Linked DNA regions of Homo sapiens: regions 1, 2, 3 and 4 are each linked to region 5. Evidence: promoter capture Hi-C in 16 types of primary human blood cells and fetal thymus (Javierre and others, 2016). All regions are on one chromosome and are shown on one strand. Each heading gives the region's core, a stretch centred on a gene start or on the middle of the fragment in contact. The rest is flanking DNA. Distances are from core to core; before and after follow the strand shown.

The links. The method cuts DNA at HindIII sites, captures the fragments that hold promoters and counts their contacts. A CHiCAGO score of 5 or more calls a contact.
Region 1: the fragment with the promoter of ZNF784 here is called in contact with the fragment with the promoter of PNKP in region 5 in 1 of 17 cell types (naive CD8 T cells); the score reaches 6.8 in naive CD8 T cells.
Region 2: a contact is called between the fragment with the promoter of KMT5C here and the fragment with the promoter of PNKP in region 5, in 8 of 17 cell types (fetal thymus, total CD8 T cells, naive CD4 T cells and 5 more). The highest score is 16.0, in fetal thymus.
Region 3: a fragment that was not itself captured here is called in contact with the fragment with the promoter of PNKP in region 5 in 1 of 17 cell types (naive CD8 T cells); the score reaches 5.9 in naive CD8 T cells.
Region 4: a contact is called between the fragment with the promoter of GSK3A here and the fragment with the promoter of PNKP in region 5, in 1 of 17 cell types (non-activated CD4 T cells). The highest score is 7.8, in non-activated CD4 T cells.

The regions. Positions count from the first base shown.
Region 1 is chr19:55,620,919-55,626,325 of GRCh38, reverse strand. ZNF784 (zinc finger protein 784) reads left to right here and starts at 1,760. Exons shown (of 2, transcript NM_203374.2): 1 at 1,760-1,842; 2 at 3,682-5,407. The coding sequence starts at 1,765. The coding sequence ends at 4,575. RefSeq lists enhancers at 1,380-1,529, 1,280-1,779 and silencers at 1,600-1,659, 1,730-1,779. The HindIII fragment of the contact is 2,172 bases long and covers 1,437-3,608 here.
Region 2 is chr19:55,337,543-55,343,034 of GRCh38, reverse strand. KMT5C (lysine methyltransferase 5C) reads right to left here and starts at 3,159. Exons shown (of 9, transcript NM_032701.4): 1 at 3,078-3,159; 2 at 989-1,241; 3 at 655-820; 4 at 184-293. The coding sequence starts at 1,098. RefSeq lists silencers at 1,583-1,762, 3,008-3,067 and enhancers at 3,088-3,157, 3,467-4,240, 4,241-5,015. The HindIII fragment of the contact is 2,060 bases long and covers 1,603-3,662 here.
Region 3 is chr19:55,600,938-55,606,396 of GRCh38, reverse strand. It overlaps ZNF524 (zinc finger protein 524), which reads right to left. Exons shown (of 2, transcript NM_153219.4): 2 at 3,259-4,322. The coding sequence starts at 4,284. The coding sequence ends at 3,490. It overlaps ZNF865 (zinc finger protein 865), which reads right to left and starts at 750. Exons shown (of 2, transcript NM_001195605.2): 1 at 665-750. RefSeq lists a silencer at 482-981 and enhancers at 1,025-1,576, 1,577-2,128, 3,232-3,782. The HindIII fragment of the contact is 3,453 bases long and covers 1,576-5,028 here.
Region 4 is chr19:42,238,962-42,244,257 of GRCh38, reverse strand. GSK3A (glycogen synthase kinase 3 alpha) reads left to right here and starts at 1,656. Exons shown (of 11, transcript NM_019884.3): 1 at 1,656-2,075; 2 at 4,116-4,303. The coding sequence starts at 1,793. RefSeq lists enhancers at 1-370, 985-1,034, 371-1,165, 1,095-1,304 and silencers at 1,595-1,804, 1,835-2,114. The HindIII fragment of the contact is 12,371 bases long and covers 1-3,736 here.
Region 5 is chr19:49,866,326-49,871,742 of GRCh38, reverse strand. It overlaps PNKP (polynucleotide kinase 3'-phosphatase), which reads left to right and starts at 4,167. Exons shown (of 17, transcript NM_007254.4): 1 at 4,167-4,274; 2 at 4,526-4,689; 3 at 5,298-5,344. The coding sequence starts at 4,539. It overlaps AKT1S1 (AKT1 substrate 1), which reads left to right. Exons shown (of 5, transcript NM_001098633.4): 4 at 27-196; 5 at 1,683-2,704. The coding sequence ends at 1,826. RefSeq lists enhancers at 1,084-1,731, 3,930-4,711, 4,712-5,417 and silencers at 1,647-1,956, 4,031-4,330, 4,401-4,770. The HindIII fragment of the contact is 3,228 bases long and covers 3,777-5,417 here.

The DNA.
Region 1 (5,407 bases), core at 511-3,010, 5.8 Mb before region 5:
ATATTGATAGGAATGTTAAGCAACAAAGGTCCCTATTTATTGCTAGTGGGAGTGCCAAATGGTAGTAATTATTATAGCTAACTCATAGCACCTGCTGTGTGCCATACATTGTCCAAAATACTTTATATATAATGACTTCTTTAATCATCATAGCAACTGTGTAAAGTAGGTTTTATTATCACCCTCATTTTGCAAATTAGGAAACCTGGACAGAAAGAGCTGACTTAAGCATTAGACACAGTAGTAGATACAGTGCCTAGGGCCCATGATACTCTTAGGGACCCACAACATTTAAAAATTTATTTTAGGCCGGGCGCAGTGGCTCACACCTGTAATCCCAGCACTTTGGGAGGCCGAGGTGGGCGGATCACCTGAGGTCAGGAGTTCGAGACCAGCCTGGCCAACATGGTGAGACCCTGTATATACTAAAAATACAAAAATTAGCCGGGCATGGTGGCGGGCACCTGTAATCCCAGCTACTCAAGAGGCTGAGGCAGGAGAATCGCTTGAGCCCGGGAGGCAGAGGTTGCAGTGAGCCATGATCATGCCACTGCACTCCAGCCTGGGCGACAGAGTGAGACTCCATCTCAAAAAAAAAAAAATTATTTTAAAATCAAAAGAAAAGAAGGGAAATATAGCTTTGGAAGACCAAGGCAGAAGGATCGCTTAAGGCTAGGAGTTCAAGACCAGCCTGGGCAAGGCAAGACAGCAAGATCCCCATCTCTATAAAAGAAGAAGAAAGGAGGAGGAGGAGATAATTCAGCCTAAGTGGTGTTTATCTTTATTTTATACCAACATATCACAAAATATAATTTCATATATATTTATGAATGAAATGATCATGCTTAGGATCATGTTTAAGTATCTCCTATCCTGCCCTTTCAAGAAAACTATTTAAAGATGTTTCCAAACTCTTCCATGTCTCTTCTCAGTGGTTTGTCACAATGCTTCTACAGTGCTACACAAAAGAAAGAGAAATGGTCCAGAGAAGTGTAGTGACTTATCCAAGGTGATACCACCAGAATGACTAAACGGGGCAGCTAAGAAGAGCCCCGTCCTTGATGCTGCTGAAAACCCCGCGTTTTTGAGCTCTTTCCTCCCAAACATAACATCAGCTTGCGGGTTTTTGCGTCCTCCCAGGACCACCTGTGTTGCTGTTTACTGAATATTTTTCTCCACACTGCCTTTTTTTTTTTTTTTTTTGACAGAGTCTCTGTCACTCAGGCTGCATGCAGTGGCGAGATCATGGCTCACTGCAGCCTCGACCTCCCGGCCTCAAGCGATCCTCCCACCTCAGCCTCCCGAGTAGCTGAGAATACAGGCATGAGCCACCGCACCCGGCCTACACCGACGTTTATAAACTTGGCGTCATTACGTTGTCATGAGCAGTGCAGAGGTAATCACAAAAACGTTTACCGTGGAAACAAAGCAAAGCTTCTTCAGTTCTGCTGAGGTTCCCCTGACAGCCAGAGCCTCGAGTCGGCCTGCGTTGGTTTAGAAGGAACGTTCGGATTTGTTCCCAGGGTGTTACAGGCATCCTAGCGCCACACAGAGCGTACCCTCGGAGGGACAGACAGGTAATTAGAGAGGGAACAACTCACATTCTCCCGGGCTCAGCCGCCACGCCCCGCCCCGCCACGCCCCCTGCTGCACCACGCCCCCTCGCAGCCCCGCACTGCGCCTGCGCAGTAGCTCTTACGCCAGTTCGAGCCCCACCCCCTTTCAGAGCGAACATTGGCCTTGGGGGCGGGGCTTGGGCACAAGATGGCCGCTGCGCGCCCAGAGGCCCAGAGTCGGAGCTCACCGACTCCGGAGTCGCGATCCCAGGAGCCACTGGACCTGGTGCGGGCAAGGAAGGGGCCTGGGCGTGGGGCTCGAGGTGGGAGGAGGTCGTAGTGTGGGGGGCGGGTCCGGGGCGTGGCCTATGAGGGGGTGGGCGAGGGAGGTATTTAGTGCTATGGCCCTGGGGGTGGGGCTTCTTGTGGTTTCGCGAGGGGCGGGGCAGGGGAGGAGACTATGTCATGGTGGGCGGGGTGGGGGAGGGACCTATGGGTGGTGGGCGGGGCCTGGATGGGGGCGGAGTCTGAGGACGGTGTTGTCTTGTGGGACGGGTTTGGGTCCAGGGAAGGGGGCTTACCAGGGATAATTTGCATAATTTGGGTGGAGCCTTGTAAGGGGCGGGGCCTCATAAATTCTAGGGCTAATTCTAGGGTAGAAGGTTGGGAAGGTGACCCTGAAAAACGTGGGGGATTATGATTGGAGCACCTATGTCGGGGTAGGGGATAATTCTTCAAGGGTCTTAGTGATGCTTCTCGAATGCCCAAGGGAGAATTTGGGGGTAGAAGTGGGTGGTCTAGGTGACTTTGGAACTTCCTCCACGTTACCCCACTCAGAATTAGACTAATTGAGGACATTCATTCATTCAACAAACATTTACTGAGCTCCTACTTCGGCTCTGTAAATAGAGAAGTGACCAAGACAGACAAGGGTTGTGTTCTTTTGGAGCCTGCAGTCTCTTGAGAGGAGAGAGACAATAAAGGAGAGTTACTGTGATATGTTCTATAAAGGAAATAAAAATTGAGCCAATTTCTATAAATTGAGCCAAGAGTAGGGGTGGGGCAGCTAAATTTAGACGAGAGAAGTCAGCTGGGTGCCGGCTTATGTTTAAGCTGGGGTCAGAGAGATAAGTGGAGCTACATCGCCACAGATATTATAGTGACGATTTGGGATAAGTCATTTGGAGCCACTGGAGGGTTTTGAGTGCGAAAAATGACTTGATCTGATTTACATTTTCAAAAGACCTTCAGGCTATTCCTGGGAGGTGGGTTACAAGCCAGCAGAAATAGGAACAGAGATGCCCTTGGGTTTTTCAATTTTGGAGGCGCCAAGTGATGGGGCTTTAACTAGGGTGGAGGACAAAAGGTGGGATCCATGATATATTTTGGACAGGAGAGGAAATGTTGATGAGGATACAACAGAATCCTGGAGGATGGGCCGGGCGCGGCGGCTCACGCCTGCAATCCCAGCACTTTAGGAGGCAGAGCCAGAAGGATCTCTTGAGCCCAGTAGTTGGAGACCAGCCTGGGCAACATAGTGGGACTCCCTCTACATTAAAAATAATAATAATAATTTTTGTTTGTTTTGCTGTCTAAGATGGAGTCTTGTTCTGTCGCCTGAGCTGGAGGGCAGTGGCATGATCACATCTCACTGCAACCTCCACCTCCTGGGTTCAAGCGATTCTCGTGTCTTAGTCTCCCGAGTAGCTGGGATTACAGGCAGCAGCCACAACACCTGGCTAATTTTTGCATTTTTAGTAGAAACGGTATTTGCCATGTTGGCCAGGCTGGTTTCGAACTCCTGACCTCAGGTGATCTGCCTACCTCAGCCTCCCAATGTGCTGGTATTACAGGCCTGAGCCACCGTGCCCAGCCAGAAATAATTTTTTTTTAACTAGCTGGATGTGGTGGTGCATGCCTGTAATCCCAGCTACTCAGGGAGATGAAGTGGGAGGATCGCTTGAGCCCAGGAGGTCAAGGTTGCAATGAGCCACGATCGCGCCAGGGCAACAGAGTGAGGCCCTGTCTGAAAATAACAGAGGAGCCCAAGCTTTAATAATTGGGGCGTGCTGGGGCGGTCCTGAGGCAGGTTCCACAGGCTCCTCTTTCTTCTCCTCTTGCCCAGGTCCTGGTGCCTGATGACTGCCGGCCTGGCACACCCCCGAGTGACCTCATCGAGATCCAGGTGGTGAAGGTGACGGACACCACGCTGGTCCCTGAGCCCCCGGAGCCAGGTTCTTTCCACTGTGCCTTGTGCCCTGCTGCCTTCCGGCTGGTTTCCGAGCTGCTGTTCCACGAACATGGCCACTTGGCTGGGGCCGAGGGAGGCGGGCAGGGTGGGGACCCGAGCCGGTGCCACGTGTGCGGCCACAGCTGCCCGGGCCCCGCCAGCCTGCGCGCGCACTACAGCTTGCACACGGGGGAGCGGCCCTACCGCTGCGCGCTCTGCCCCCGCGCCTTCAAGGCCTTGGCGCCCCTGCTCCGGCACCAGCACCGGCACGGGGTGGAGCCGGGCACCTCTCGGAGGCCTCCGGACACAGCGGCCGTTGCAGAACAGAGGCCCGGGGTGGCCCCGGAGAGGGCGGAGGTGGTGATGGCGGCGGCGGCGGCGGGCGCAGCGGTGGGGAAGCCTTTTGCCTGCAGGTTCTGCGCCAAGCCCTTCCGCCGCTCCTCAGACATGCGAGACCACGAGCGCGTGCACACTGGCGAGCGGCCATACCATTGCGGCATCTGCGGCAAGGGCTTCACCCAGTCCTCGGTGCTTAGCGGCCACGCCCGCATCCACACTGGCGAGCGCCCGTTCCGCTGCACGCTCTGCGACCGCACCTTCAACAACTCCTCCAACTTCCGCAAGCACCAGCGCACCCACTTCCACGGGCCGGGGCCGGGGCTGGGAGACTCTGGAGGCCAGCTGGGCTCGTCGGCGGCTGAGGGGTCGGGGAGCGGGTGTGGGGTAGGGGACCCTGCGGAGGAGGGGCGGGGGGAGACCGCGAAGGTGAAGGTGGAGGCCGACCAGTAGGCTGCAGACCAGGGACATGGGTTAGTTAAGGCGGAGGTACGAGGCCGACCCGGGGAGGGGGACGGGGTGGGGAAACGGAGGCAGGGGACAGAAGAGGGGAGATTGGGGGAGAGATGACAGCTGCAGGGATGGTTGTGAGCCGCTAGTGATGGAGAGCAGAGGGAGAGGGCCAGGCTCCAGACTCCCACACGCCCACACAGCACCTCTGCCAGGCCTAGGAGAGGACAGGTGCAGCTCTTGCAGCTCTGCGGGTGTGCGGCCAAAGGCAAGGCCCACGGGCTGGATGTCACTTCCCCGACTGTCTCTTGGTTGGCTTGTCCTTGTGCAAGACCCAGCCTGTCACGACAGAGCCTGGGCACTTCAGAGGAGGAGCCAGGATCGAATGGAAGGGGGGAATTGGGGTCCACCATAGTCTTCTGCTCTGGTCCTCCACGGGTGGACCAGGATGGAGTCTCCTGCCTACCTCACTGCATTGCACTGGACCTGGGATGCCTATCCACCCTCTGGCAGAAGACACTCACCAGGTTATCTGTGAAGAGACTCTGGGATCCCATCACCTCAAAGCCAGAGGGTCCCCAAGTCACCGCTGAGAGCACTTGAGCCTCAAGGATGTAAGCCTGACCATAGGATCTTGACTCCAACAGCGGCAACCCCCACCCCCATTGTGGTCCGTCCTTAACCCATCCACTCTTCTTCGGAGGCAACTGAGAACACATAAAGCAAGCAGCTACCTAGCATCCCCCTCCTAAAGCTTTAGACTCAGAGCCCAGGGTCCCCCACAAGCCTCAAGGTAGCCTCAGGTTTCTCTAATTTCCTCCACTCCCAGTTCGAA
Region 2 (5,492 bases), core at 1,910-4,409, 5.5 Mb before region 5:
TCCAGCGGCACCACGGTAGCCACAAAGGTCTTCCGGGATTAGCCCCACCACCTTCCTAGGATGCCCGGAGGACCAGGCCCCTCGCTTTTCCCCGGTTGGCCAGTCCATGAACAGAGGGTCTCTCTTGTCCCCTCTGAGCTCTGTCTCCTCCAAGGATACCTGCAGGGAGTCCTGCCCTCTTACCAAGCACGAGTGGACACGATCTTGGCCCCGTTGGTCTCCATGGAGTAGCGCGTGCAGGGCAGGATGGTAAAGCCACTTTCCGGCAGGAAGGCACGGAGGTAGCGATAGACCTGGTGAGGGTGAGGGTGGGGGTGAGGAGGCGGGGCAGGGGCATCTTTGGCCCTCTCTCTCCAGGACTCTAGGCCTGCCATGCCACTGACTCACTGTGTGGTCTTGGGGGCCTCATGTTCCCTCTCGGGGCCTCAGTTTCCTCATCCGTCAAATGAAGAGGTTGGACTACATCTCAGAGGGCCCCCCCAACTCTCCTCTCCTAGGATTCTCTGAGCCTTGCCTCAGATGGTCCCAAGGGCTAGGAAGTCAGGGGGCCCCAGGGGCTGCGCTGAGGGACTCTAGAGCGTCTGCCAGGCGGGACCAGGCCCGGTGAGCGGGGAGGACACGCGGTGAGGGCGGGGGAGGGGAGGGCGCCCTCACGTGGGTCTTGAGGGCAGCCTCCTGCCGCGGGCCCCGGCTCTGGAAGTAGCGGGCCGTCCAGCCTCCCAGCGTCAGGGCCCGGTACGCAGCCTCCAGGTCCCGCTGCCTCAGGAAAGTTTCCAGCGCTGAGCGCAGGTGCTGCTGTCGCCGCAGGGGGGGCACAGGGCTGGGGGAGAGGGCATGCCTGGGTCCCAGGGCCTTCCCGGGCCCCGGCCCCAACCCCCACTTGGAGCTGAGGGGAGGACCAGGCTAAGGAGAGGGCCGAGGGGCGGCAGCGGTGCAAGGGGAGGGGTCCTGACCCCTCGGGCCCACCCTCGCCCCCAGGCCACCTCACCTGACGTTCATCTTATGGGTGCGGAAACCGAGGTAGGGGTCCAGGACGAGGCTGGTGGCCAGGTCGTCGTTCTCGCACAGTTCTCGTGCTGTCACTCTGTCGGGCCCCATGGTGCCCTGCGGACCATGCTGCCTCTGGCAGAGAGCAGGAGCAGGTGAGGGCAAGGCAGGCGCGGGGAGCCTGGCTTGGTGCTGACTCCACTCCCACGCTACTCAGAAGCCATGGGGGACGCTGGTGAGCCCCACGATCTCATCTGCAAAATGGGGAGAAAAGCAGTGCTGACTTCACCAGGCCGCTGGCGAAGATGGAATGCAACAAGTACTTCTGAGAGTAGGGAAAGCCCAGAGCCATGTCAGCCATCGCCTTAGCTCTTGCTCTTGCTCCGCAGCGCAGACACAGATCCCCCCTAAACACACAACCCCCACATGCACACCCATGCACACTCAGACTGACACACGCAGATGCCCCTGCCCATATGTACAGAGACCCCCTACACACACACATCTCTTTGGGCCCAGAGAAGGCTGACTGATTGGCAGCCGGGATCACCCTAAAGGCTTAGCACCGTGGGGAGCCGCTTCACCTCTAGCCCTCAAGGAGGAAAAGTCAAAGCTTCCCGCCAGCCCGAGGTCCCGCCCTCCACCCCCACCTCGACCCAGCCTCGGTCTCCGCCCCCTGCCTCCCCGGCAGCCTTCGGGAGTGGTCAGGAGGCTCCGGGTGAAGCCCCAGGCAGCCTGGAGGCGGGTGACGGGAGGGAGGGCAGGGGAGGGATCCCAGCACCTGCTCCCTCTCCAAGGATTCCAGGGGAGGGGGGCTCAGAGGACAAAAGCGGGGGTGGGGAGGGGAGCAAAGGAAGACTATGGGGAGGCAGCACAGGTCAATATTTACAAAAACATTTTTTTAAAGCGGAGCCAGGAGAGAACGGAGAGATGAAGAAAACCACCCAAACCCCTAACCCGGACGGAGGGCCAGCCTCGTCCCCGCACCACGGCGCTCGAGGCTCATCCGCGCCCAGGAGAGGAGGAGATGGGGCAGGGCAAGGAGCGGGAGCTGCAGAGACGGCTGTGGAGGGGTCGGGGACAGACTGCGAGGCTGCGGGAGAGAAAGAGGGGGCGCTGCAGGAGGACGCCAGGGACAGCGGGGAAGCTGGAGAGGGGGCTGGGGGCAAGGAGAGAAACGCACAGCGGTGGGCACGGCAGGGGGCTGTGGGAGGGAGAAGGCTGCAGCCGGGCCTGGGGGCGCTCAGAGGGGTGTGAGGAAGGGATGGGGGTGCCAGGGAGGACAGAGAGCGGGGAATGGCCTAGGGACTCAGGGAGGAGCCAGACGGGAGACCTGGGTCGGGGGGCGGTCCAGGGATGGCGGAGAAGATCCTGGGTGTCCAGTGAGTGAAGGGCCTGAGAGGGCGGACAGGGGCCCAGGGATCCAAACGGGCTTGGTGGGGTCCTGGGGGATCCAGGAAAGGGAGACCCTAGGGAAGGGCCTGGGGACCCAGGGAGGCGCCTGGGTAGGCGGTGAGAGCCCAGGGCAAGGGACCTGGAGGGTCAGAGGCCGACCTCAGGGTCCAGGGAGTGCCAGGAGAGGGACAGAGGGGTCAGGGAGAGGTTCTAGGGCACAGAAAGACCTAGAGGGTCCAGAAGGAGGCCTGGAGGGTGAGAGGAGGTCGGGGATTGGCCCTGGGAGTGCAGGGAGGTCCCGGGGGTGAGAGAAGGGTCAGGGAGAGGCCCTGAGGGTGCAGGGAGAGACCTGGGGGTGCAGGGAGAGGCCTGGAGGGTGAGGTCAGGGAAAGGCCCTGGGGGGTGCAGGGAGAGGCCTGGAGAGTGACAAGAGGTCAGGGAGAGGCCCTGAGGATGCAGGGAGGGCCGTGGACGTAAGAAGGGGGTCAGGGCCCGGGTGAGGAAGCACAGGAAGGAGGCTGCAGTGCCGCGGAGCCCGAGGCCCGGCGAGGGGCCGGGAGACGTGGGCGCCTGGACACGAGGAGGGGCCGGGCGGGGTGGGGGGCAGTCGGGGCAGGGGGCGACTGGGGAGCCAAGGCGGCGCGGGGCTGGGGCCGTGAAGGGGCTCAGAGATCGGGCCCCGCGCCGCCCCTCACCCGCTTCTCCTCCTCCTCCTCAGGCGCCCGCGCCGCCGCCGCCAACACCTCCCACAGCCTCCTTCGGCTCTCGTCAAACACTGTCGCCGCACCTCCCATCTGCTCTCCGGGCCAGCCCCGCCAAGGCCACTGAGGCTTTCTATTGGCCACAGCCACCGCCACTCCTCCGTTGCTACGAAGCTCACGGCGCTCCCATTGGCCAAGCCCCACTCTTTCCCTCCGCGCCCGGCTCTCGTCAATACACAGATAAAACCCCGCCACGCCCCCGCCGCCGTCAAACGCCGCGAACTGTTGTCAGTGGTTCACATCGCTGTCCTTTAGTCGCTGCCATGGAGACTTGTCCCGCCTTCGCTCACACTGGGGCTCGAAATCGACGCACTCATTGGCCGAAAGCGCAGTCTCTCCGGGCGAAACTCGGTTTGGGTCGGGTTATTCAGGTCCAAGTGGAAAGAGGGCGGGCTCTGCCAGCTCCAGTAGTCGTATATGATTGCCTGGCCTTGGGACAGCTCCTCTTTCCATTGGGTAAGGCCTCCGTCCATCACCATAGAGTCGCGGCCTCCCTCTTCTATTTCTCCGAGGAAAGCTTCGGCCACAGGAGGGAGAAAGCCAGACCCGGCGGGAGGGAGGCGGTGAATGCGCGCGCACCGCCATCCCTCTCCCCTCCCGCCCCGCGAGGCCTGCGGTTACCAAGGCGACGAAACTTTATTGACAGCTCTGCCTGGCTACAAAGGGCTCCTCAGTCTCTCTCCCTCCCTCCCCGTTTACACCGTTGCGTTTTGGGAGTATCCACACGCACTCTGTGGGACCTTCCCGCGATATGAACGGGGTCGGATGGAGGGAGGGGAGGCTGAGGGAGGAGTGGGGACTTTTGAGACAAGCCCTGACTCCTGGGGCGCTCCCCTGGGGCACCCCCTAATTGGGATCACCCCCCCTACCTCAATCCTAGAGGCAAACGTAACTAACAATTCATCATAATTACGCCGAGAATAATAAGCTCCACACTCAGAACAGGCGGTCTTTGTTTGCTTGTTTGTTTGTTTCGCCACAGCCATTCTTCCCTTAACGACACTGATACCATCTGGGCAGTGCGTGCTCAGGCGATGTCGTCATCCTGCCAGCATCCTAGAGCAACATCACTCACACCTACGTGGCAGGGCTGCTGGCACCTGGGCTGTAAGGTGGCCGGCGGCTCCTGGGCCACACAGCTGTGCAGCATGTTACTGTCCGGTAACACAATGTAGGCGCTTGTGTGTCTACACATATAGGATCACTGTCAGACATGCGCTCCACTGTACAGCTATAGATCGTGGGCACTTAAAACAATGCATGCCACAGAGTAGGTGCTGTTTTGGTGTGCTGTTTTTGGTGTTTTGGTGTGTGTGTGTGTGTGTGTGTGTGTGTGTGTGAGAGAGAGAGAGAGAGAGAGAGAGAGAGAGAGAGAGAGAGAGAGAGAGAGACAGAGACAGAGTATCGCTCTCTCGCCCAGGCTAGAGTGCAGTGGAGTGATCTCGGCTCACTGCAGCCTCTGCTTCCCAGGTTCAAACGATTCTCCTGCCTCAGCCTCCCAAGTAGCTGGGATTACAGGCATGCACTACCACCCCTGGCTAATTTTTTTTTAGACAGAGTTCCCTCTTGTTGCCCAGGCTGGAGTGGAATGGTGCGATGTCGGCTCACTGCAACCTCCGCCGCCCAGGTTCAAGCGATTTTCCTGCTTCAGCCTCCCAAATAGTTGGGATTACAGGCATGCACTACCATGCCCGGCTAATTTTTTTTTTTTTTTTTTTTTTTAGTAGATACGGGGTTTCACCATGTTGGTCAGGCTGGTCTCGAACTCCTGACCTCAGGTGATCCACCCACCTCAGCCTCCCAAAGTGCTGGGATTACAGGCATGAGCCACCATGCCTGGCCTGTATTGTGTTTTGAGACAGGGTCTTCCTCTGTTGCCCAGGCTGGAGTGCAGTGGTGCAAGGATGGCTCACTGCAGCCTCGACCTCCTGGGTTCAAGCGATCCTACAGCCTCAGCCTCCTGAGTAGCTGGGACCACAGACGCATGCCACCATGCTCGGCTAATCCTTTAATTTTTGTAGAGACAGGGTCTCTCTAGGGGCTCATTCAAGTGATGCTCCCTTCTTTTTTTTTTTTTTTGAGAGAGGGTCTTGCTCTGTCGCCCAGGCTGGAGTACAGTGGTGCGATCTCGGCTCTCTGCCTCCCGAATTCAAGTGATTCTCCTGCCTCAGCCTCCTGAGTAGCTGGGATTACAGGTGCCCACCACCATGCCCAGCTAGTTTCTGTATTTTTAGTAGAGGTGGGGTTTCGCCATGCTGGCCAAGCTGGTCTTGAACTCCTGACCTCAGGTGATCCACCCACCTCAGCCTCCCAAAGTGCTGGGATTACAGGTGTGAGCCACCATGGCTG
Region 3 (5,459 bases), core at 2,053-4,552, 5.7 Mb before region 5:
AAGGAACTCTAGAGGGAGCTGTGCCGCTGCGATGGGGGGGTGGCTTTGAAAGGGGCATTCTTAAGGGGAATCACTGGAGGACCTGCAGAAGGGAAAAAGGCATTCTTGGTGCTGACCAGAATAGAAAGTATTTTCACACCCACGAAGGGGCGTTCTGCTGGGGAGGGAGGTGGTCAGGGCCATTGGGGGCTGTTGCTGTATGGACAGAGATAACGGGGGACAGTTCTGCTGCAAGGCACTAAGGAAACACTCTGGGGAGAATTATATAGAGGATACTAATAAGAGGGTTCACGAGCAGCTGCCCTACATGGGGAGGGGCAATGCTGATGGCATCTGGAGGCTGACCTGGAGGAAGCAATGACGGGGAGCGCTATGTGGAGGGGATCCTACGAGGAGGTATCATTTGGGGGCCCTGGCAGCCGTTTAGGGGATCGCCACGAATGAAAGCGCTTTGGCAGCCATCCTAGCTGGGGGCGTTCATGGGGGAGCTATCTGCAGTGATCCTACCGGGGAGCAGTGATTGGGGGTCCCTTGGCAAGGGCCCGGCGGGAGCTGCACTGACTTGCTAGGGGTTGGGGGACGTTCTGGGGACCACAGCGGGCCAGGGCGGGGCCCCCCGCCCCCGCTGCACCCGGGCCCCCGGGCCACGCACCCCGTCACTCACCGGCGCCGGGGTCTCCGCCGGGAGGAGGCCGAGGAGGCGGAGGAGGCGCCGCCGCTCCGGGGAGACCCGAGGGCCCGACCGGAAGTGCCGCCCCCTCCCCCCTCCCCGGCAGCCCCGCACCGCCCGCCTGCCCGCCCGCCCGGAAGCGGAAGTCGCGCCCGTTCCCGAGGCGCCGGCGTGGAGGATCGGAAAGAGGAGGCGGTGGCGGGGACCAGGAGGGGGGAAATGCGCTTGCGCACTGACTCGGGGACGCGAGCAGTGAAAGCCCGGGCCGATTCCGGTGGGCGAACTGAGCCAGGTGCGCCTGCGCTTTGAATGCCCGCCTCTTCTACGGGAACCCCGCGACACGCTCTGGGCGTCCGGTTAAGCCACACCTCCGGCTCGGGTCTCACACTGAAGCCCCGCCCCCTGGCCCTGAACCACGCCCATCTCACAGCGTGATTATAAGCCCCCTACTGCCTCAAAGTCTGTCTTCGTCCCCTCGCCCTCATGCAGTTTCTCCTGTTCTTCCCCCTCTCCAAGCTCCCACTCTCTGGAACTTCACCCCTCCCTAGGCCCCGCCCCCTCCATCCAAGCCCCGCCCCTTCACCCCATAGCATTTAAGTTGCACCTCGTGACTTTTGAGTGCCTCCCACCTCTAAAGCATTCTTTTAAATCGGTGGTTGTCAAGGATAGTTGGGAGGCCAGCAGCATCCGGCTGCCTGCTCAGACCATGCGGAATAGAAGCCCTGGGGTTGGGGGTCTAGGGATCCGTGTTTTGAAATACTCTGATTCTGCTGCATGCTGGTCAAGAGCCATGGATTTACCACACTTGACACTGCCCGCTCATATAATCGCTATAATCCCGGCTCCCAACTCAGCCCCATCCCAAACAGCCAAACCCAGACCCATTCAGCCCCTCCTGCTAAGCTTCCACTCTCCCAGGAACTTCCCTTAGATTAAGTACTTCCTTCTCTCCCCATCGCCTCCATAGCAGTCGTGCGCCCCCATCAGCACCTTCTAAGTCCCACCTCCAATACCCTGTTCCCTCAGAGTTTCTCCTTTAAGCCCCGGCCCCCGGCCCTCGGCCCTGAACCACGCCCACCTCAGAGCTGAATTATTATAAGCTCCGCCCCTCACCTTAAAATCCGTTCTCTTGGCCTGGCGTGGTGGCTCACGCCTGTAATCCCAGCACTTTGGGAGGCCAAGGCAGGCGGATTGCTTGAGCACAGGAGTTCAAGACCAGCCTGGGCAATATGGCAAAACCCCGTCTCTACAAAAAAAAAAAATACAAAAATTAGGCTGGACGCGGTGGCTCACGCCTGTAATCCCAGCACTTTGGGAGGCCGAGGCGGGTGGATCACGAGGTCAGGAGGTCAAGACCAGCCTGGCCAAGATGGTGAAACCCCGTCTCTACTAAAATTACAAAAATTAGCCAGGCGTGGTGGCGGGCGCCTGTAATTCCAGCTACTCGGGAGGCTGAGGGAGAGAACTGCTTGAACCCGGGAGGCAGAGGTTGCAGTGAGCCAGATTGCCCCACTGCACTCCAGCCTGGACGACAGCAAGACTCCGTCTCAAAAAAAAAAAATTAGCTAAATATGCTGGCGCCCGTCTGTAGTCTCAGCTACTCCGGAGGCTGAAGCAGGAGGGTCGCTTGAGCCTGGCAGGTCGAGGCTGCAGTGAGCGGTGATAGGGCCACTGCACTCCAGCCTGGATGACAGAGCGAGACCCTGTCTCAAAAAAAAAATTATCCGTCCTCCTTGCCCCACTCTCACGCAGTTCCTCCTGTTCTTCCCCAGCTCCAAGCCCCTACTCTCTATTAGATCAACTCTATCCATCCTCTTTAAACCGCTCTCACTTTCTGCGGACCAACCCCTAAACCTCTTTAAGCCCCACCCAACTCTAACCCTCTTCTAAGCCCCCGCCCCAGGTCCCAGCCTAACTGCCCCGCAATCTCAGCCCCACCCCTCGCTCCTTAGCCCCGCCCCAATCCACACCCCTTATCTCTAAACCTTACCCAGACCGTCCTGCTCATACCTTTGTCTTAATTTTTCCTTCCAAACAGTAGGTCCTCAGGACAAGGAGGTGGGGCAAAGTGGCTGCAGAATTTCTGGGAATTGGCTAGGAGAGAGGCGGTCGGACCTACAGTCAGGTCTGCATGGAAGGTTCAATGTTTTTAGTTAGATTGGATGTGTACTGGGAATACAGCTGACCCTTGAACAACAGGGGTTTGAACTGCAGGTCCATTGAGAGGCGGACGTTTTTTCACCCAAACACCGGTGGAACATACAGTATACGAAGGGCGGATTTTCCTACATCCGCGGGTTCCGCAGGGCCCACTGCTGGACTTGTGTATGCCCAGATCTTGGTATCTGCGAGGTTCGTGGAACCAATTCCCCGCGGACTCCGAGGGACCCATGGACTTTGGGGTCTGATGGAGATGGGGAAGGGGCCAAGGTTCCCCCCAAAACCATTCTTTGGCGAGCACCACGCTCATGAGGCACAGGAAGTGGGGTCCTCTCCAATTCCCCGCACTCCCGACAGGACGGTGTAGCCGAGGAAGAACATTTGAAGGCAGGAGAGGATGGCATCCCGGCACGGAACACACACAGGCAGCCAGCAGGCAGAGATTTATTTCCACAGCCCCTGCCTCCAAGGGTCTGTTAGTCTGGGGGAGGGGGGCTGAAGGCAGCTGGACCCCAAAGTTTAGGTCTCCACCCTCCACCTGCTCCCACAACGGGAAGACCACCGGAAACAAGGGTGTCCCGGCCCCCTGGCTCAGGCCCAGCACCAGCCAAACTCCCTGCTCTAAACCTGGCCCAGGGAGCGATGGCCGGGGGTGTGGGTCAGGCCGGCTCCCCTTTCCCCTCTGTCTCCTCCTCCTCCTCGGCCCCTGCTGTGGCCGGGATGCCCTCCTCGTCCCACGGCGGTTCAGACCCTGGATCTGGTGCACACAGGGGTACCCCCATGGCCTCCGGGTGCTTGCGCTTCGCATGGCGCCGGAGCGTGTTGGCCTCTGTAAAGCGCAGCCGGCAGATGGGGCACTGGTACGGGCGCTCCCCCGAGTGCACGCGGTGGTGGTGCGCCAGCTCGCCCGCCTCGCGGAAGCGGCGGGGGCACAGCGGGCAGCGGAAGGGCCGCAGGCCGGCATGGATGTTGCAGTGCCGCCGCAGGTGGCTGGAGCGCTTGAAGGTCTTGCCGCAAACCTTGCACTGGTGCGGCTTCAGCTCTGAGTGCGAGATGCTGTGGCGCTCCAGGTCGGAGAGGTAGGGGAAGGCCCGCAGGCACACCGGGCAGAAGTGTGGGGCCTTCCTGGGGCCAGAGCCCTCAGGCCCAGCCGCTGAACCTTCAGAGACCGTATAGGGCACACCCTGATCATCGATCAGGAGGAGGTCGCTCCCGCCACTGCTGCCTACTGGGGCTGTCACCCCCTGCACCTGCACCAGTGGGGGCTCCTGCCCTGACTTGGGGGGGCGGCCCCGCTTGCGAGGGAGGGAGGCCTTGAGTGTCCGATTTGAGGAGGTGGCTCCCCCAGGACGACGGCCTCGGCGGCCCCGGGGAACAGGAGGAGATAAGGCCAGAGGTTTCTCTTCCTCCCCGGGCAAAGGCGAAGGCAACGGGTCTGGGCTGGGGGTGTCCATTGAGCAGTGGGGGGCTTGGGTCTGGGCACTGGAGCCAGCTAAGAGGAGAGAGGGGCAGAGTCAGTGCTCACAGGGTCTAGAGCACCCCTGTGTCCCCCAACACCTCGCCCATCCCTCTCTCCAAGTCTCTTGACAAAGGTGTGTTTGACATTCATCCAGATACACAATTTTAGCTATGCTGGTGGGTAAAACAGTGAGATGATCTTGTATCAGCTGATAAACAGGCACTTCCCTGAGCTCCACCAGACATCCCTATGCCTCCCTAACTCTCCTTCTGGATCTAGAAGTTCAAGATCAACATGAGCAACACCCCTCCCCACCTCCCCACAAAAAAAAACCTTCCAGAGAGGATAGAGTCCAACTGAGAGTGCAGACCAGTATTGTGATCCTTGAAACGGAGAGCCCATCAAACTCCAGAGCCATAGAGGCCTCACGAATGCTCTCATCCCTCCCTGCTGACTGGCAGAAGTGGGGAAGGGGTTCCAGAGTGGAAAAAAGGGACTGGTCCCAGGTGATATTTGACCCTGATTCCTGGATGAGGAAACATATCTGCGATGTTAAGAGCCTGGGCCCTGGAGTCAAGACATCATTCGTTCAAATCTTTACTCTCTGCGTGGCCTTGGGCAAGGTGTTCGCTTCTCTAAGCCTTAATCAAGACTTTTGCAAAATGGGACACATAGTTCTACGTACTTGCCCAGACATGCCATGAGCATAATACCCACAAAGTGTTCATACACAGAAGCTTTCAGGACACATTAGCCATTGTTATCAGGAGCAGCTAAGCCTCACATCAACCCTCTGAATAGGGCATATCTGTCCCATTTTGCAGATGGGGAAACTGAGGCACAGGAAAGCCAAGTCAGTTGCCTAAGTTCCTCTGCCAGTAAATGGCAGGGCCAAAACTGGAAACAGGTCTTGTGACCCGAATGTCCCAGAGAATGGAGAACAAATAAACCCAAGGAGGAAAGGGGACATTACGAGGGCTCAGTCCTGGGTTTGAATTCAGCTCTGCCTATAACTAGCAATTGACTTTGCCAGTTTCCTCCTCTGAAAAGTGAATAAACCAGGGTTGTCAGGAGAATCGAATAAGACAGTGGGCTTTAAAATGCCCCTCGAACACTGCCTGGTGCACAGTAAGCACTCAATAAACTTCACCAACGCCACCACCATCTTCC
Region 4 (5,296 bases), core at 407-2,906, 7.6 Mb after region 5:
CCAAAAAACAAACCAAACCAAATTAGCTGGGCGTGATGGTGCACGCCTGTAGTCCCACCTACATGGGAGGCTTAGGTGGGGGGATTGCTTGAGCCTGGGAGTTAGAGGCTGCAGTGACCTGTGATTGCGCCACTGCCCGCCAGCCTGGGCGGCAGAGCGAGACCCTGTCTCAAAACAAACCAAAAACTGAAAACTGAATGGTGGTTCAAGACAGGATTTTTTTTTTTTTGAGACGGAGTCTCACTCTTTTCGCCCAGACTGGAGTGCAGTGGCGCGATCTCGGCTCACTGCAACCTATGCCTCCCGGGTTCAAGCGATTCTCCTGCTTCAGCCTCCTGAGTAGCTGGTATTACAGGCGCCCGCCACCACACCCGGCTAATTTTTGTACTTTTAGTAGAGACGGGGGTTTCGCTATGTTGGCCAGGCTGGTCTCGAACTCCTGACCTCGGATGATCCGCCAGCCTCGGCCTCCCAAAGTGCTAGGATTACAGGCGTGAGCTACTGGCGCCCAGCCTGAGCCACAGCGCCAGGCCCAGAAATGACATTTCCGTCTTTTTAATGCTCCATTCAGCTTCCTGGTGCGAACCACATTGCTAGGAAAAGCTAGACTGTATCCGAAGACTAGTTAGTGTTCTGAGAAACCGCCGGGAACTTTGTTTCCCGAATCTTTGCAGAGTTGCGGTTAGAGAGGGGACATTTTTTCTTTCCTGATCTATGGTCACCTGGAACTTAAAGGTGCTTGGATCCATTTTCCAGCAGTCCTTGATCGACCTCGGCTCTTTCTTAAAGAAGGACCTGGGGGCGAGGAAGGAGGCGCTGAAACACTTTTAAGTCTCTCCAGGGAACTGCCGCAGTCTCTAACCTTTCGTTCACACGCCCCTGATGGTGGCCATTGGACTTCGCTTCCCGGCAAGCCTCCGCAGACTGGCCTCACAGAGGGTCAGGTCTGGACTATTCCCCAGCATGCTTGGAGCTCATGGGCGATCCCGCCCCCTCAGTCAATGGGGAGGATACGTCGAACTCCATTTCCCAGAACACACCAGGGCTCGCTGTGGCAACTGCACTGAGGCCTTGGTGCTGACTACACTTCCCGGCAGGGACTGCGGCCCAGCGTACCTGGAAAGAGGAGCGCGTAAACCTACTCCATTTCCTCGCCCATCTCCGGAACTGCAGTATCCACCTGGGGCTTAAAAACCACCTGAGACTCCATTTCCCGGCGTGCTTTAAAAATCGCTTTACACCTGCAATGCGGTGAGGGCGTGGCGACGACTCCATTTCCCGGCTTGCCTCACGGCCCGAGACCCGCAGGTTCACGCGGGCCGACTCAATTTCCCAGAGCGCACCGAGCTCTGGGAGGCATACACAGCTAATAGACTGAGTGAGTGGACTCCGTTTCCCAGCGTGCATCAGGCTCTCTGCTTCCTAAAGTGCTTCAGGGCTCCCCGTCGTACAGTCGGCTGACAGATTACCCTGGACTCCATTTCCCGACGTACAGCGTGACCCGTCATTCCCGCCCATCATTCCCGCGGTCTACTCTGAGGCTTTTGTGGACTTCATTTCCCGGCGTGCCACGCGGCTCTCTGTGCGGGCCGAGGGCGGTGACGGCGGCGCGGACGACAGCCGGACTGCATCTCCCGGCGTGCCCCGCGGCGGGCGCTGGGCCGGAGCCGGAGCCCAAGCCAGAGCGGCGCGGCCTGGAAGAGGCCAGGGCCCGGGGGAGGCGGCGGCAGCGGCGGCGGCTGGGGCAGCCCGGGCAGCCCGAGCCCCGCAGCCTGGGCCTGTGCTCGGCGCCATGAGCGGCGGCGGGCCTTCGGGAGGCGGCCCTGGGGGCTCGGGCAGGGCGCGGACTAGCTCGTTCGCGGAGCCCGGCGGCGGAGGCGGAGGAGGCGGCGGCGGCCCCGGAGGCTCGGCCTCCGGCCCAGGCGGCACCGGCGGCGGAAAGGCATCTGTCGGGGCCATGGGTGGGGGCGTCGGGGCCTCGAGCTCCGGGGGTGGACCCGGCGGCAGCGGCGGAGGAGGCAGCGGAGGCCCCGGCGCAGGCACTAGCTTCCCGCCGCCCGGGGTGAAGCTGGGCCGTGAGTACTAGTGGCGCCCGTGTAGGGTGGTGATTAGGGTTCCCAAAGCTCCTCAGACATCCATCAGATTCTTTCATGTGCTTAGATAGGAGCTCGAGGTCACTGTGCCTCCCCATACCGGGGATCCGAGCCCTCTTCCTCCCAGGAAAAGGAGTCTTGGGGTTACCATCTCTTGGAGATCAGAATTACTCGTGGATCAGAATTACTAACACTTAAAGAAACGGGTTACAAGTCTCTGTTCTTCCATTATTGAGGTCTTGGGTCCTTGAGCCTTAAGAACAGGTATCTGATGTTGCTATTCATTATAATATTGGATCAGAGGTCACAGTCGCTTGCAAATGGGGATCTAGGGTTATTGTCTCCTAAGAGAACAAGAATAAGACCAACCCCGAAAAAGAGGGATCTGCATTCCCTGTCCTTCAGAAGATGGGGATTTGGAGCGAATATCACTTAGAAGCAGGGCTTTGAGGTTACTGTGTTTTGTCCCCAAAGAATAGGGCCAGGCTTTCCAAACCTGGTACTCAGATCATCTTCCCTATTAAAACCAAGACCTGGCATCATTACCCACCCTAAATCTTGTTGAGCTGTACTGCCAATGGTGAGAATTAATAGTTACTGCCTTTTAGATATAAAGACATTGGGAGTCAGCATATCCTTCAAACCAAGTCCATAGTCCATGTTTTAAAATACATGGCTTGGTGTGTCTCCTTTAACAAAAATGGAATGGAGCAGGGTAGGTCACAGTTTCCTACAGAATATGGATCTAAGGTTATACTTTTTTAATAATTGTTCTAAGGTATGGTGTCATTGGCTCTGAAAAAAAAAAGTGATGTAGGGTTATCTCCCTCTGAAAGAACTTGTCACTGGCCCCTCAAAATGGATTTGGTGGCCGGGCGCGGTGGCTCACGCCTGTAATCCCAGCACTTTGGGAGGCTGAGGTGGGCGGATCACCTGCGGTCAGGAGTTCGAGACCAGCCTGGCCAACTGGTGGAACCCTGTCTCTACTAAAAATATAAAAAATTAGCTGGGCGTGGTGGCGGGCGCCTGTAATCCCAGCTTCTCGGGAGGCTGAGGCAGGAGAATCGCTTGAACCCAGCAGGCGGAGGTTGCAGTGAGTCGAGATCGTGCCACTGCACTCCAGCTGGGCAACGAGAGCGAAACTGTGTCTCAAAAAAAAAAACAAAAAAATGGATTTGGTTCATCAGTTACTCAAAGGGGTCACTATCCTCTAAGAATGGCACCAAGGTTTGCCACCATTTGAATAATGGGAATTGGGAATTATAGCTTTCCTTCAAAGGACTGAGGCTGGAATAGCTCCTTGATAATAAAGGTCAGGTTCATCATTATCATAATTTGGTGCTTGTCCATTAGGGACCACCCACATATAGTGAGGGGTCTGGGTCTCTGGACCACTCAGATGAAGAGGTCAGGTCAGTGTTTTTTTCTAACCTCAAAGTACCAAAAAGTGAGGGTCAGGGCACTGGCACTTATAGCAGGAGAGGACATTCATTTCTGTCACCAAGAACCAGTAAAGTTACCAGCTCTACAGGGGAGGACTTAGAGGTCAGTATCCTCTAGGCTGTGAGAGAGGTTAGTGCTTTCCTAAAGTAGGAGTACCTCAGGGTTACTGCTCCCTGAAGTGGAAGAGGCTCGGTCAAGCTTTCTCCAAATAGGAGGGGCCAGAGGGCAGTAGATCCAGAGTAGATGGAGTCAACATCTGATGTCTCCCAGTACCAAGATGGACCAGTGATCTGTTGCTTCCTAGAAGTAGAAATTTGGGGTTGCCAACCCTTGAAGCAGAGAGATTTAGGTATCAATATCCTCCTATGTGGAGGGGAGCAGGACTTAAGATTCCCAGAAAGGAAGAGGGGAAAAGTCACTGGGAAGGTCCCAGCATCCACCTTTCCTCAAAGAGGAGGAGGGGACAAAGAGGTCCCCAACGAGCTTCCTGCAGAGATTTCCCTTCCTCCCACAGCCCCAGGATAGGGTGATGCGCAGGCAGGATGGGTCAGTGGATCGTGTATCCCCTTTGTTCCCCAGGTGACAGCGGGAAGGTGACCACAGTCGTAGCCACTCTAGGCCAAGGCCCAGAGCGCTCCCAAGAAGTGGCTTACACGGACATCAAAGTGATTGGCAATGGCTCATTTGGGGTCGTGTACCAGGCACGGCTGGCAGAGACCAGGGAACTAGTCGCCATCAAGAAGGTTCTCCAGGACAAGAGGTTCAAGGTAGCTTGGGCGGGATGGGGACAGGGAGGTTTGGGGACTGGGTGTGACTGGTGGGAGAACCTGAGCCAGAGAGCTGGAGGCTTGGGTTTCAGAGCCATGGGCCAGAAGAGAAGGGGGAAAAGAGGAAATGAGACCTGTGAAAGATGGGAAATGTGGATCCCAGGAGAGCCCAGAGCTTTTACTGGGCATTTGCTCAATGTAAGTGCTTAATAAGCAAATTCTTGTTTAATTTACATAAAGATTCTCTGAGGGTAGGTACTGTGGTTATACCCATTCTAAGTGTAAGCTAAGTTTAAAAGCAGGGAAACAAACTCAGGTAAGAGGATTGCCTGAGGTCATAGAGCAAGTGCCCCAGTCAAGGCTGGAATCTGATTCCCAAACCCTCTACCTTAACCATTTGGTTACACTTCTTCCCAGGAGAGAAAGGGACCTGGCAGGGCTAGCGCGGGTGGTTCTGAAGGTCGCGCTCTTCCCAGGTGTTTGGCCAGCGCAGAATGGAATGGAGGTGCCCTGTGAGCTAGGAGAGGCTCAGGGAACTAGAAGGAGATGGAGGAAGTGGAAGTTGAGGAATAATTGGTGTTTAAGGGCCTGGCATTTGGAGCTTAGACTAGTCTGGATGTAGGAGAACTGAGCCTAGACTGGAAAGGAACCAGACCAGGGCCTCGGTCTTGGCAGGGAGGGCCCTTGGGCAGGAGGAGCTCCAGGGTGTCAGAATTTGATTGGAGTTGAGTTCCAGAAGTAAGAGGGATGTAGGGGCAGGGAGTTCCTAGGCCTCACTGAGGAATAGAGAATGGGGAAGAATGCTGAGACCGCATTCTGGGAAAAGTCCAATGCCTGGAGTCTGGGACTCAGGATCCTAGATAGAGTTCGAGGACCCAGATGCTTCCACGGGACCAGAGTGAGCTGGATGGCCACTACCTGTCTGTTGTTGCTTGTGCCAGGTAGGGGGGCAAGCCTCATGTGCCCATGCCTGATTTTTTTTTTTTGAGATGG
Region 5 (5,417 bases), core at 2,918-5,417:
AAGCTGAAGTCCACCCTCTCTTTCAGATGGCAGCCTGAGCGAGGAGACCCCCGCCGGCCCCCCCACCTGCTCAGTGCCCCCAGCCTCAGCCCTACCCACACAGCAGTACGCCAAGTCCCTGCCTGTGTCTGTGCCCGTCTGGGGCTTCAAGGAGAAGAGGACAGAGGCGCGGTCATCAGATGAGGAGAATGGGCCGGTGAGGGGCAAATGTGGGGAGGTAGGGAGGGCAGCTGGAAGGGCTCTGAGCCGCCTCCTCCAGGAAGCCCTCCAGCATGGATGCTGCTTTCCACCCATAAGCTAACTGAATCCTCCCCTCAACCTCAAGAGGCGAGTTCTTGGACACGAGCCTTGCAGTTTTAACAATTGCAGCCTTACCATGTGTCCTAGTGCCTTATAGAGAAGGCCTCTCCTTTCCAGGAGCGTCTCTATTTATAGAACACCTGCTCTGGGCAAGGCACAGGTGTTTTGGCATGCCCTCCAGTGGAGAAACTGAGGCTTGGAGGGTTCAGATCACCTCCCATCCCCACCCTGCACATTCCTAGCCCTTTGCAGAATTTGTCCCACCCCCTGGTCCCCTGTTCACCCCTTGTAGCAACCCCTGTTTGAAGCTCCTGGGCTGGGCTCTGCTGGCCTAGGTGGGTCCTCCTCACCCTTCACTGAGCCTCCCTGAAGCAGAGGGGAAACTGAGGCACTGAGGGGACATGTGACTTCCCTGAGAGGCAGAGCTGGGACTGGAACCCAGGTGTGTTTCAGGAAGGAGCTGTGGGCTTTGAGGGAGGAGGCCTGGGTCCCCACAGTCCCCCCCTCAAGCCTCAGTGTCCTTATATGCAAACCAGCAGTCACAGTGGTGACCTTTTCTGTGCATCCTCCCTCAATGAAGCAGTGAGCACTGAAGACCAGGAACAGGGCCTGGTGCGGGCGGGGTCCACCTGCTGCTGCTCTCTGTGCTTGCGACTCATGGCAACACAGTTAATTGAATGCTCTGGCCTCTTGCGTGCTGTGCCCGGGGGCTGGTCTCCCACTGGGCTCAGGTCCAGTTCCTGATCTGGGTCTCCGGGTCCCATCCTGCGAGGGGACAGGCCCAGCTCCGGGTGACGGGGGCTGTAGTGGAGGCAGTACTAGGTGCCAGAACTGCAGGCTCCTTGGCGGGGGCTGACACAGCGAGGGATCTTTTCTGTAGCGCAGTGGCCACATGATAAGGCAGTAACAGCTGATTATCTCAGCCCTCACAGAGACCCTGTTATCCGCCCCATTTTTCAGAAGGGGAGACTGAGGCCTAGGGAAGCAAAACCTCTTGCTCATAGTTTGTCAGCGGCAGAGGTCTGATTGGAACATGACTGAAACCCCAGCCCAGATCCTCAGACATGAGACGGTGCACTCAGCCTTAATGGCTAGCAGGCAACAGCACTTCCACTGTGTAGGAAGCAATGTCCTAGGCCAAGAAGGGGAGAGGGAGAGGGGCAGGTAGGCTTCGTGGAGGAGGTGTCTGAACCGGGTAGAAGGGTTCCTACGTGGAGCAAGACGGGGAGGGGCACTGCTGGCAGTGGGCATCGCAGGGCACAGGTGGCAGGGCAGGGACGTGCTAGAAGTGGGCTTGGAGCCCGGGTGCACCCCTGGACCGCGTGTGGGTGCAGGGGGATTGCCCTGCCGGCGCTGACCTCGCCCCGTCGCCGTCCCCGCAGCCCTCTTCGCCCGACCTGGACCGCATCGCGGCGAGCATGCGCGCGCTGGTGCTGCGAGAGGCCGAGGACACCCAGGTCTTCGGGGACCTGCCACGGCCGCGGCTTAACACCAGCGACTTCCAGAAGCTGAAGCGGAAATATTGAAGTCCAGGGAGGGAGCGCCCCGGGCCGCGTCCGCCCCGTCCCACACTACGCCCCCGCCCCACTCCCGGGGCCTGCTAATCTGAGGCCGATCCGGGACCGGCCTCCTTGCGTCTCCCATTCCCAAGATTGTCCCGCCTCTGCCAATCCCCGCCGTCCTTCCAGCCCACGACCTGCCGCGCCGAGGAGCGGCATCTGTCCCGTTTCCCGATTGGGTCTGTCGTCTCTCTCCGCCTAGCGACAGATTCCTTCTATTAAGGGATTGGCTCGCTGAGTTCTAAGCTCTAAATGGGTCAACTCCTTTGTTTTCCGCCTAGCGACAAGGGATTTGCTCGCACGGCATTGGCTCCATCCCCTAGTCGCTGGACAGCTCTTTTTTTGATTGGCTCAAATCCTGTAAAGGGCTTGACCAGTCTCTACATAGTCACCGTCCGCTTTTCCTGAGTTCTCCCTCCCAATTGGCTCCAGCTTCCTGGGGGCGTGGCCAAGCCCTCCTCTTCCCAGAATTGGCCCGGGGCCTTCAATTTACGTTCTTTACACTACGGGGACTGGGGTCGTCTTTGCCCACGTCCCGACAACTTGTTCCCTGACCCCCTCAGGGATGGCCCCAAACTGTCCCTGCCTCTGGCACCCCCTTTCATTGGTTCCATCCATCCCCACAACAGCCTGCCAATCGAAGCCCGTCCCTGCATCCAGGATGGTACCAGCTCCCGCCCCTCGCCCCCCACCTCCACAGGTGCCTTAAAGGGCCCTCGTCCACCCAAGGTGGGGGGCAGGGGCCCTCACTCTCCGGCCCTGGTGTGGGGGAGAGAGTGAGGGGTTGGGGGATCGGCAGTTGGGAGGGGCGCTCTGAGATTAAAGAGTTTTACCTCTGAGATAAATGTGAAGTGTGTTGTGAGTGTTCATTCAACATTTTCTGAAACCGAATGGCAGCGTCTGATTATCAGTGAATAGCTGGGGGTTGGAATTACTGTGCCCATTTTATTTACTTTTTTGAGACAGGGTCCCACTCTCGCCCAGGTTCAAGCGATTCTCCTGCCTCAACCTCCCGAGTAGCTGGGATTACGCGCCACTGCCGCCCGGGTAATTTTTGTATTTTCAGTAGAAACAGGGTTTCATCATGTTGGTCAGGATGGTCTTGAACTCCTGACCTCAAATGATCCACCCGCCTTGGCCTCCCAAAGTGCTGGGATTACAGGCGTGAGCCACGGCGCCTGGCTTTGTGCCCATTTTATAGATATGAAGACACAGGTTCATGGGGTGGAGGAGAGCATCCCAGTCTTATGTGACCATGGAACCCAATCTTGAGGAGGTGAGTGTTGGAGACAGAGCCCACATATTCACCAGCAAAGCCAGGAACTCCAGCCGGGAGTCTTCTATTATAAAAGGACTGGAGCAACTGGGCTTGGTGCCTCACGCCTATAAGCCCAACACGCTGGGAGGCCAAGGCGGGAGGATCACATGACACCAGGAGGTCGAGATCAGCCTGGGCAGCACAGTGAGACCCCTTCTCCAAAGGGAAAAAAAAATGGCTGGAGGTTAGAAAGCAGGTGGAACCTCGTCCGAAATTAGGACTAGGTAAACGTAGTCCCACCAGACCACTACCGAAAGAATGCTAACACTAAATAAGACTTAAACGGATCTGAGCACTTTGGGAGGCCGAGGTGGGCGGATCACGAGATCAGGAGATCGAGACCGTCCTGGCTAACACGGTGAAACCCCGTCTCTACTCAAAATACAAAAAATTAGCTGGGCGTGGTGGCGGGCGCCTGTAGTCCCAGCTACTCGGGAGGCTGAGACAGGAGAATGGCGTCAACCCGGGAGGCGGAGCTTGCAGGTGAGCCGAGATCGCGCCACTGCACTCCAGCCTGGGCGACAGAGTGAGACTCCGTCTCAAAAAAAAAAAAAAAAAAAGACTTAAACAGGGCTCACTACCACCCATTTTTTAAAGCTTTTGTCACGTGTTAGCTCCTTTAATCGTCATGGTAACCCCACGAAGCGGAAACGATTATCCTTTTTATAGATGAGGAAACTAGAACATCGAGGGTGAAGCCAAAGAAGGACTTAGGGGCGCTGTCGGGGGCGGAGGTTTCCTCGACTGACAATGACCATCAGATGGGAAAAAAATCTTCCTCCCTGGGATGAAAATTAGAAGTCAAGGTGGAAAGAGGCAAATCTGCTAACGGAGGATCCAGTCCCCGCTACCGGCCTGAGCCTCGCGTTGCAGCAAGAGAGATGAAGGTCAGGGCTGCCGAGAGACCCTGGGGGCCGGGAGTCGGGGAAGGGGCGTGGCTGCTGTGGGAGGAGGCCAGGCCCCGCCCCCCACCCACGAGGGGACGAGTCATTTCCGTCCGCCGAGGAACCGACCGCCGCCGGCCGGGTTGCAGGCGGGGCACCTCGGGCAGGACCTCCCTGGTCGGAAGTGGCCGTGAGCCCAAGCCGCGGTCCCGGGTGAGTACGGGGCGGGGCGGAGGCATGTGCGAGGCTCTCTGCCTGTACGCTGGAAAGTGGGGATTGCAACTCGGGGAGGGATGGAGCACGCGTCGTCGCCTGGGAAACGGGTCGACCCGCGGAAGGCGAGCGGGTGGGACTTCCGGAGCAGTTAATGGTGGGGAAACTTTCTAGTGGATGTGGGAGGAGGCGGGACTTCCTGCAGCAAATTGGGGCTGTGCGCCGCTCAAGCCCGTTTACCTGCTCCCCAGGCCGGCACCCAGGATGGGCGAGGTGGAGGCCCCGGGCCGCTTGTGGCTCGAGAGCCCCCCTGGGGGAGCGCCCCCCATCTTCCTGCCCTCGGACGGGCAAGCCCTGGTCCTGGGCAGGGGACCCCTGACCCAGGTTACGGACCGGAAGTGCTCCAGAACTCAAGGTGAGCGGGGCCTGAGCTGGAGGGGGTGTGGCCTGCTGCAAAAGCGGGAACAATCCAGAGGGACGCTTGGCTGCTACGCGGGATTGCAGTGGTGCAGCCAGCCCCGAAGTCGGAAGGTGCTCTCTAGGGAGTACAGGAAGATAAAGTTTGTGCTTGATTTAGAATTAGCTAGATCCTTTGGGGGAGAGGGGATCGAGCCGATTTAGGGAGGATGTTCACTGCGCGGATGATGCTCAGGCCATCGGGAAATCCAGAAACAGGCGACGACCTTCGTCAAGAGAAAAATGATCCTGTGGAGAAAAGTAAATGTCGCTAGGTTGGGATGGATGGTAACAGGCCAAGCCCCGGACCTATATCTAGCCACATTTTTTGTCAAGGAGGAAACCAATTCTGTAGAGAAAAGTACCTCCCTGTCCCTTGCAAGGACCAGTGTCAGGCAATCCTAGTGCCACTATCTGGCTACTGCATGTCAAGGAGCCAATCCCATGTAGAAATAAACTGCCTCTTACTCCCTGGATGCTATAGCCTGAAGCAGGCCACACTCCCCAGAAATGAGGGACCCAATCACACAAGGATGCAAATCCTGACTCCACCCCTCCAATCCTCAGTGGAGCTGGTCGCAGATCCTGAGACCCGGACAGTGGCAGTGAAACAGGTATCAGTGCCTCTGCAAGGGCCAGCAAGGCCTGGGGATGGGATTTGGGGAGGAATTGCAAGCCGTCAGTGAA